2 separate regions of the Homo sapiens genome follow, and region 1 is linked to region 2. Evidence: promoter capture Hi-C in human tissues and cell types (Jung and others, 2019). All regions are on one chromosome and are shown on one strand. The core of a region is centred on a gene start or on the middle of the fragment in contact, and the rest is flanking DNA. Distances in the headings are between cores, read along the strand shown. Region 1 has its middle 150 kb from the start of FNDC3A. Region 2 holds the start of CDADC1 (cytidine and dCMP deaminase domain containing 1).

Region 1 (4,937 bases), core at 1,267-3,766, 420 kb before region 2:
AGTTCCAAAGTCGTTTCCACATTTTCAAGTATCTTTATAGCAATACCCCACTTCTGGTACCAATTTTCTAAATGAGTCCATTCTCACACTGCTATAAAGAACTACCTGAGACTGGATAATTTATGAAAAAAAGAGGTTTAACTGACTCACAGTTCCACAGGCTATACAGGAAGCGTGGCTGGGAGGCCTCAGAAAACTTACAGTCATGGTGGAAGGAGAAGGGGAAGCAAGTACATCTTATCATGGTGGAGCAGGAGAGAGAGGGCAAAGAGGGAAGTGCTACACACTTTTAAACAACCAGATTTCATGAGAACTCATTCACTATCACAAGAATAGCAAGTGGGAAATCTGCCCCATGATTCAATCAGCGCCTGCCAGGTCCCTACCCCAACACTGGGTATTAGAATTCAATATGAGATTTGGGAGGGGACACAGCCAAACCACGTTACTTAGGGTAAGTCTAGGCTGCTGATACAATGAGAGACATTGATACAATGGCTTAAGGAACAAAGAAGTTGCTTTCTCTTTTGTATAACAGTCCCAGGTGATGTCCTAGGCTGACAGGCAGCTCTCTTTGATGAAGTCCTTCAGGGAACCAGGTTCTTTCCATTACCATTGCCTCATCATTCAACAGAGCGTTGTCACCTACCATAGGGGTGAAACAGGGGCACCACTGTGACCAGGTTACTACTGACAGAATGAAGGAAGGGCATGTAGAATACTTATCTACTGCTTTAGATGCTGGCCAGGAATTGACAATCATAATTTCCGCTCACATTCCACTGTAACCCACAATATACTCATATCTAACTGCATGGGAGGCTGGGAAAGGTATTTCAGCTATCTTTACTAAAGATGAGTCTACCCAACCATAAGAACAAAAAAAAAAAAAAGAAGAATGAATGATTTGGGTGGCTAGAGCACAGTCTTTGGCATAACCTCTTGGAGAAACAGCAATCAGAATGATGTAAGAAAGTTGTATATCATGTAAGGAAGAAATCACATCAGAAGAAAATAAGTATTGTGTTTGCCATGGAAGTGATTAGACTAGTTCTATGTGGCTCTAGGGGATTGAATTAAGACAAATAGGAAAAGGGCTTTCTAATATATTAATATCATAATATAAAAGGACCTCCTTCTAGAGTGGAAATTCCCCTTGCTAGAGAATTTTTAGCAGAAACTGGAAGACCTTTGTACTTCCTTTAGGGGTTTTAGCATTTCTTCAAGCATTCTGAATGGCCAAGTTAGATCACTAATGCTGTCTTTCAGCACAGAGATTCTGTGATTCTATCTAAACTTGTGTTTATGGGTCATAGGGTAAGAAAAGGAAATCCCAAAATTTCTTAGGTGCCTACTGTATACAAGTCCTCACAACAATCTTGTGAGGAGGCACTATTCACATATTGCTGATGCTCTGAAGGGTCCACGGTCATTGTCTAAGACTTCAGAGCTATTAAGTGGCATTGCTGGTATAATCACCATCAGTCTGATTGCTAAATCCATGATATTTCTACCATGTTGTTGCCTCCCAGAAAGAAGGTCAAGAAAAAATTAAACATTCCCTCTTGTTTTATCATTCCCCTTCATGCTCCCCAAGTCCTTTATGTTATCAGGGCTGACTGCCTGGATGGGACTGGCTGTTCTGCAGAATTTAGCACAACAAGAGAGGATCACTTCAGCATTCAGTCCCTTTTCTAGCTCTTTCTACTGGAGCAAATGACTGATTTGTCACCCAAGCTTTTCTTGGTCCAGAGGCAGAGTTGCCTATTCATTTGGAAGAAGCTTCTGCTTCTCTCATTCCTTCCCTAAGAAGAATGCAGGGATTCTCCTGTAACCCCAGCCCACATAATAAGGCAGTGAATCATTTTCTGCTGTTACCTGACAGTCTGCTGCCTAAACCTCTTCCATCCTGGTTCTGAGTGTTGTAGGGGGGGAGAAAAGGTTTAATTTGAAATTAATTCTTAAGCCCTTTTGCATTGAAATGTGGATGTCAAAAGTGAATTAATCATCACCAAAGCTTCCATCATAGAAAATTTGCCCGATTCCCTCCACAGAGAGGATGACTCACATAAGCACCTGTTTTGTCTCCTTAGTAACTGGTCTCTTAGATTTCCCTCTTGTATTTGCATGCAGGCGAGCATAGCAAATTGACTGGGGGAAGGGAAGAGGTTCACAGCATACAGAATGTGCTCTGGGCAGAATGTCACCTGTAACACTGTTTTCCAACCATCTCGTGCTTTATGTACTCATTTTGTGTCTCTGTTATAACCCCAGCATTGATTCAGTCGCAAACTCAGAGTGCAGAGATAAGTCTGGAAAATTACTAATGGCCTCAGGGAAGGTTTGGTGACATACAATAGAAATGAATACTGGTGATATTCTGTATCCATCTGTATATTAAAAATGTGTCTTTCTTGGCTTAAACCTTTGCTGCAATAGGAGGCAGGCACACAACTCTATCAAGAGAGAGGTGAAAAGGGTAGAAGAAGAGAGGTTCAATTAAACCACTTATCTGGCTTTAGCACAGGAAGTAGTAATATTTCAAAAGTTGGGTTTATGTGGTTCTATGTGGTTTTAGTTCTCTTTTTCACAAGAGAGATAAAATGCCCTCTCTTATTGTCATTGTGGTAACATTTTTAAAAGATATTTGGATCAAGAGCTGGAGACCCATGTCTCAATACGTTCTCAGCCATAAATGAGCCAGTACCTGTGAATAAATCACTTAGATTCTCTGTGTTTCCTCCTGGAAACTGAGGGATCCAACTACATGACAATATTATCCCTTCCAATTATGAAATTGGAACTCTGTTTTCTGAGTAGCTTAAAGTAGCTTAACACTTAAACTTATTGGGTCAGAGATCATCCAAAATGAAAAGTTACTATTCTTTTCTTTATTTTACAAACGACGTCCAGAGAGATGAAGTTACTTGCCTAAGATCACATAAAATTCAAGTATCTTCACACACTTATTTATTTGGTTTCTGTTTTTATTATAATGCAACGTGCTATTGTTGCAGTCAAATAGCTCTACCAGACTTGTTATGAAAAATAGTGGTTCCCAATCTGCTTTTATGTCCCAAAGGCAGCTACTTTAAAGCAGGTTTTAGCTGATTCTTTTGGTTATTTACCTCAATATCTCTAAACATTATATTGTTTCAACTTTAGGAATGACCTCAACAACAAAACATAAAGTTTTTATCCCCCCCTTCTCCCTGTGTAGCTGTATCATAATTTTATTTAGTTCAGTTACTGGTATTTATTTGATGACATAAATATTATTCACAGTTGAGCTATGCAGAATATTATGATTAATTTCCCTTTCTGTTTTCTTTTCCCTGGAGTTAATAATTATCACATTTTCATTTTGCTTAATTTTCTATGAATAATCACAAATTCAACCCAAACTCCCTATAGTTGTGTCTTATAAAGGCTTAACTCATTTTATTGCTTTTCATTTTTGTTGTGCTTCACAGATGTTGTGCTTCACAGATATTTTGCTTTCTGCAAATTGAAATTTTGTGGCAACCTGCATTGAACAAGTCTATTGGTGCCATTTTTCTAACAGCATGTGCTCATTTTGTGTCTCTGTGGCACATTTTGGTCATTCTCACAATCTTTCAAAGTTTTTCATTATTATTGTGTCTGTTGTGGTGATCTGTGATCAGTGATCTTAGGTGTTACTATTGTAATTGTTTTGGGGGCCCACAAACCATGCCCGCAAATGACAGTGAGTTTAATCAATAGATGTTGCATGTGTACCGACTGCTCCGCTCACTGGCCACTCCCCTGTCTCTCTCCCTCTCCTCCGTGGGCCTCCTTACCCTTTTATTTATTTATTTATTTTAGATGGAGTCTCGCTCTGTCATCCAGGCTGGAGTGCAGTGGTGTGATCTCAGCATACTGCAACCTCCGTCTCCCGGGTTCAAGCAATTCTCCTGCCTCAGCCTCCTGAGTAGCTGGGATTACAGGTGCCCACCACCACGGCAGGCTAATTTTTTTTTGTATTTTTAGTAGAGATGGGGTTTCACCATATTGGTCAGGCTGGTTTCGAACTCCTAACCTCAAGTGATATGCCCACCTCGGCCTCCCAAAGTGCTAGTATTACAGGCATGAGCCACCGAGCTCGCCGGGCCTCCCTATCTTAAGAGACACCACAATATTGAAATTAGGCCAGTTAATAATCCTAAAATGACCTCTAAGTGTTCAAGTGAAAGGAAGAGTTGCATGCCTTTCACTTTAAGTCAAGAGCTAGAAATGACTAAGCTTAGTGAGGAAGGCATGTTGAAAGCTGACACAAGGCCGAAAGCTAGGCCTCTTGCGCCAGTCAGCCAAGTTACAAATGCAAAGGAAAAATTTTTGAAGGAAATTAAAAGTGCCACTCCAGTGACCACACAAATAATAAGAAAGAAAATCAGCCTTATTGCTGATATGGAGAAAGTTTGAGTGGTCTGGATAGAAGATCAAACCAGCCACAACATTCCCTTAAGCCAAAGTCTAATCCAGCGTAAAGTCTAACTCTTTTCAATTCTGTGAAGGCTGAGACAGGTGAGAAAGCTGCTGAAGAAAAGTTTGAAGCTAGAAGAGGTTGATTCATGAAGTTTAAGGAAAGAAGCTGTCCCTATAACTTGAACGTGAGAGGAGAAGCAACAGGTGCTGATTGAGAAGCTGTGGCAAGTTTTTCAGAAGATCTAGCTAAGATAATTAATCAAGGTGGCTACACTAAACAACGGATTTTCAATGTAGCTGAAATAGTCTTCTACTGGAAGGAGATGCAATCTAGGATTTTCATAGCTAGAGAGGAGAAGTCAATGCCTAGCTTCAAAGCTTGAAAGGACAGGCTAACTCTCTCACTGGGGGCCAGTGCAGCTGGTGATTTTAAGTTGAAGTCAAGGCTCATATACTATTCTGAAAATCCTAGGGCCTTAAGAATTATGCTA
Region 2 (5,095 bases), core at 1,797-4,296:
TAACTGGTAAATAACTTCTGTTCTTAGAGTGTGAATACAGCTTGTCTCTCTCATATCAAAGCCCATGGTCCTTCCACTTGATATATAGAATTGTTTATTGATTTAAAAACCATTTTATTGATTAAACTGGCCTTTGTAGAACTCAGCTGCTCTGAGCTTGTCCACTTCTCAGCACTTAGGGAAAATTTCATTTTATAATCCTTTTTAGTCCTCTTATTCCTCTGCAGCAGAACAATTATTCCACCAATACTGTGGAAAAGTTAGCCTAGTCTGAAAAATATTTCAGCTACAAATACCTAAAAATGCAGGATAAAATATGGCTGAGCTAGCAAGAAAGTAAGAGAAATAGTCCAAGTATTTAAACTGCTCTGAAATACTAAAGGACTGAAAATGGAATGAGACCAGGAGTCCAAAGAGAGGTTAATGAGCAATAAAGCTAATGATTGTTTGAAGGGCAGGGCAGATCTAGACTGCTGGGGATTAAAGATACACACACAAACACACATATAACATATATAGGTGTGTATGTATATATATATACATATAGTTATTTTGAGAGTTTAAGACTTAAAGAAAGTTGCAAAAATAATACAGAGTTCCTGTGTTACCCTTCACCCAGCTTCTGCAATAATAATGTCTTACCTATTCACAGCACTTTGGTAAAAGCAGGAAACTGATACTGGTAAAATACTGTTAATACAGGTATAGATCTTATTTGTGTTTTACTAGTTTTGAATGTACCACTTTGCATTTTTGGTGTATAGCTCTATGAATTTTATCACATGTATAGATATGAGTAACTGTCAACACAAAGAAACTCTGTCGTGTTACCTCTTAACAGTCAGACCCTTGTCCCAACCATAACATTTGGCAATCATGGATTTGTTCTTCAATGCTATAATTTTTCTTTGGCTATGAGAATGGTATCTAGATGGAATCATACAGTATACAACACTTTAAGACTGGCTTTTAAAAACTCACCACAATGCCCTTGAGATTCATTCAAGTTGTACGTATCAATAGCTCATTACTTTTTATGGCTGAGTAGTGTCCCATGGCATGGATATACTCCAGTTTGCTTTCTATTCATTCACTAAGGACTGTTTGGCTTGTTTACAGTTTTTTTGTTTTTTTGTTTTTGAGATGGAGTCTCACTCTGTCGCCCAGGCTGGAGTGCAGTGGTGCAATCTTGGCTCACTGCAACCTCTGCCTCCCGGGTTCAAGTGATTCTCCTGCCTAAGCCTCCTGAGTAGGTGGGACTACAGGTACATGCCACCACGCCTGGCTAATTTTTTGTATTTTTAGTAGAGACGGGGTTTCGCCATGTTGCCCAGGCTGATCTCAAACTCCTGACCTCATGATCCGCCCGCCTTGGCCTCCCAAAGTGCTGGGATTACAGGTGTGAGCCACCATGCCTGGCCTGTTTTCAGTTTTTGACTATTAAAAATAAAGCCACCATGACATTCATGTACAGAGTTTTGTTTGAACATAAGTTTTGGTTTGTCTAGGATAAATACCCAGGAGTGTGATTGCTGGGTGATATGATAAGCATATGTGCAACTTTATAAGAAACTGTCAAACTGTTTTCTAGAGTGGTTATGCCATTTTATAGTCCTACCAGCAATGTTTGAGAGATCCGGTTGCTCTGCATCCTCACTAGCATTTAGTGCTGTCAGTACTTGTTATTTTAGCCATTTAAATAGGTGTGTAGTAGAATCTCATTGTGGTTTTAATATACATTTCCCTAATGGCCAATGACACTGAACACTGTTTTACATGTTTATTTGCCATCTGTATATCTTCTTTGGTGAAATGACTATTCAAGTCTTTGATCCATTTTCTAACTGGACTGTTTACTTACTCTGAGTTTATATGGTTCTTTATATATTCTGGATATGAGTCCTTTGTTGGATACATGCTTTGCAAATATTTTCTCCTAGTCCATGGCCTGTCTTTAAACCTTAGTGTTAATTGCCATGAAGGCACTGTCAACAAAGTCTACACTTCAGGAAAGGTGCAGAATGGAGTTCTCTGGATATAGTCAAATCACCTGAAGAGCTTTACCCTCAGAACAGGCGAACTAGAAAAAATTCTACAAGCCAAAGAAATAAATAGCAAGCTGAAAGATAGATCTGAAGAAATTAGCCAGAATGTGGCTCAGAGAAACAAAATGATGCAATATTTTAAAAATAATAATTTAGAACCTCAGAAGGTTTAACCTATGCCTAATAGGAATTCCAGGAGGAGAGTCTAGAGTAATGTTGTCCAATACAGTAGTAGCCAATAGCCACATGTCACTACTTAAAATGTAAATTAATTAAAACTAAATGAAGTTAAAAATGCAGTTCCTTGGTTGTACTGGCCACATTTCAGATGCTCAATAGCCACATGTGGCTGGTGGCTACCATATTGGACAGTGCAGATATAGAATACTACAGGAAATCCTACTGGACAGTGCTGATCTAGGTCATAAAACAAGTCTGAACAAATTTCAAAGAACTGGTATGATACAGATGTTTTGTGGAAATAAACTAGACATTAGAAATTAAAAACAAAATAACTCCTACTGCCTCCTCTCACCTTTTTCCCCATTACAATTCCACCTCTTAATGTCTTCATGTTCTTGATGAGAAGCAGAACGTCCCTACTGTGTTCCATGGCACCAAGTTCCCCAGAACCCGCCAGTCTCTGATGACAGAACATCCTGGACCGCCCAGCTCCACACCCCAACCCAAGAAGTTCTCTAAAACACTGACCATGACAGCCTGGGGTAGGTTTCCACTTTAACATTCTGACCAAAATTCTCAACTCGATGCAGTCAGAGTCTGCGCAACCTGGGACCTCGAGCCAAGAAATCCTCAAGTGACCTTACTTGGCAAAACCAACAAAACAACCAAATACAGGTCTCAAGCGATTTACAGCTCGGTGCTTAACTCGGTCACCGGCCGAGGGGCAGCCCTCTGGCGCCAAAGCCCCGCCTCTCTATGACGTCACACGAGGAGCCCTGAAGTGGCGGTCAAGCTTGAGGCGTCATCTGGCTGCGCCTAGTGGGCCGTTGCCTTACAGTTGCTGAGAGGAGGCGAGAGGCGGGGGCGCTAGGGCCGAGATCATGTCTGACTGGGAGAGGTTTCCTTGGCAGCAGAGGACGCTAGGTTTGGGATGAAAGAAGCTGGGCAGATGCAAAATCTGGAGAGCGCGAGGGCCGGGCGGTCAGTCAGCACCCAGACTGGCAGCATGACCGGTGAGTGTCCGGGACCCTGCTCCCGCCACCCTACCTTTCGCTCTGCCCTGTGCGTCTCCCGTCATTGAACTCCAGATTCCTTGTCTGAGCCTCTTTGCCTCCCCTGCTGCTTTTGGATGTCTCCTGCCCGCCCTCTGCGTGTCCCCTCCGCGGTCGCCAGGACCAATCGGCTCGGTCGCACTGGCTTTTGAAGTCTCGCTTTTTACCCCTGTTAGCTACTTCTCACAGGACCTAGAGCTGGGGCCTCTGAGGTCAAAGAGCCTGAACATTTCCAAACGGCGCTTTTGCCTTGATTTCCAAATTAACCGCACGTGACGCTTTCCTGTATTTCGACTGCTTTACCGTCGAAGGTCAGCGCATTTTTCGGGTTGTGTTCTAATCGCTTTCCTTTTAGCAACGCCCCATCACAGTCCAAAGAAAAGCTTGCACCACGACGACGTCAGATGCGAAGACTTTTCACAGCTTGCTTTGGGTTGTCCCCCTCAGCTATGTGTATTAGCTGTACCGTTTTTTCCTGCAGGGTGAGGGCTGGAGAAAGAAGGCTCAACTTTTTAAGTGGAGAAGGAGGTAGCCACGACTAAGGCTGAAGCGTCTACTGCTAAGATACCTCTGACTCTCTTGTCCCCTATCTTTTTCTGTGCCTCTTGCGAAAGCAGCTGGGCTTAGGCTGCAGCACCTAAGTGGCATTGAGATTGGCTCCCTTTTTCACCATTAGTAACAAAGTTTAAAGTGTTTGTCGTCTCTTTTGTAGGTCAGATACCAAGGCTTTCTAAAGTCAACCTTTTCACTCTGCTCAGCCTCTGGATGGAGCTCTTTCCAGCAGAAGCCCAGCGGCAAAAATCTCAGGTATAATTTGTTTCATAGTTTTTCCCCTTAGAAAAGCAGTGGTTTAAAATCTGAGTTTATTGCTCCAGTTTCTGTCATACCTAAAACCAAACTTAACAAGGCTTAAGATTTAAAAAATATCTTTATTGATTAACATGACACTTTATAATTCCCAGCCGTAATAAGTCATCTTCCATTCTAAAAATACTTTCTGAGAATACCATGTTTATCGGGTACTAATGGTATTCATATGTCAGTTCGGCTAATAAGATTATTGTCTATACCACATAATTTCCCCCAATTATATATACTGTTGGTGTTTTATCTAGGTAGTTTACTCCTCTGCCACAGAAATATATAAATTGCCTGGAGATAGAGACCATGTCTTATTTTACCTAGCATATACCCTTTAGAGTCTAGCATTATATGAGTGCTAATTGATTAATGTTGGATGGAAGTAGTCTCTTTTTGGATCTTGAAAGACAGGATCAAAACAGATTAGAAATGGGCTGTGTGCAGTGGCTCACGCCTGTAATCCTAGCACTTTGTGAGGCTGAGGTGGGTGGATCACCTGAGGTCAGGAGTTCAAAACCAGCCTGGGCAACATAGTGAAACCCCATCTCTATTAAACATACAAAAATTAGCCAGGAGTGGTGGTATCCGCCTGTAGTCCCAGTTACGCGGGAGGCTGAGGCATGAGAATCGCTTGAACGAATCGTTGGAGGTTACAGTGAGCTGAGATTGCACCACTGCACTCCAGCCTGGGTGACAGAGCAAGACTCCATCTCAAAAAAAAAATCAGAAATGTATAGTAAGAATAATCATAAAAGCCAATATATTGGAATTGGAAGTATAAACATCCTGCGTCTTTTCTTTCTCCTACCCTTGGGGCAACAAGGGGCTAGGTTCTCATTTTCCTCCATGCTTGGAATGGCATGATGCTAGGTTCTCATCATTTCTGTTTGATAATTTTGGAAGCTTAGGGTGTTGGCATTAATTTTTATAGGGGGCCACGGCCATTGGAAAATA

Evidence for each region. Contacts are between HindIII fragments. The study calls those that stand out against the background at their distance.
Region 1: a fragment that was not itself captured here is called in contact with the fragment with the promoter of CDADC1 in region 2 in 3 of the 25 tissues and cell types used here (hippocampus, lymphoblastoid cells and spleen).

The regions. Positions count from the first base shown.
Region 1 is chr13:48,827,214-48,832,150 of GRCh38, forward strand. No RefSeq gene overlaps it. Among named protein-coding and RNA genes, the nearest start is that of FNDC3A, 150 kb to the right of the region's middle. The HindIII fragment of the contact is 4,054 bases long and covers 490-4,543 here.
Region 2 is chr13:49,244,879-49,249,973 of GRCh38, forward strand. CDADC1 (cytidine and dCMP deaminase domain containing 1) reads left to right here and starts at 3,047. Exons shown (of 10, transcript NM_030911.4): 1 at 3,047-3,241; 2 at 3,993-4,087. The coding sequence starts at 3,160. It overlaps LOC105370203 (a long non-coding RNA gene), which reads right to left and starts at 2,962. Exons shown (of 2, transcript NR_135318.1): 1 at 2,757-2,962. RefSeq lists enhancers at 2,908-3,470, 2,940-3,169. The HindIII fragment of the contact is 6,098 bases long and covers 1-4,353 here.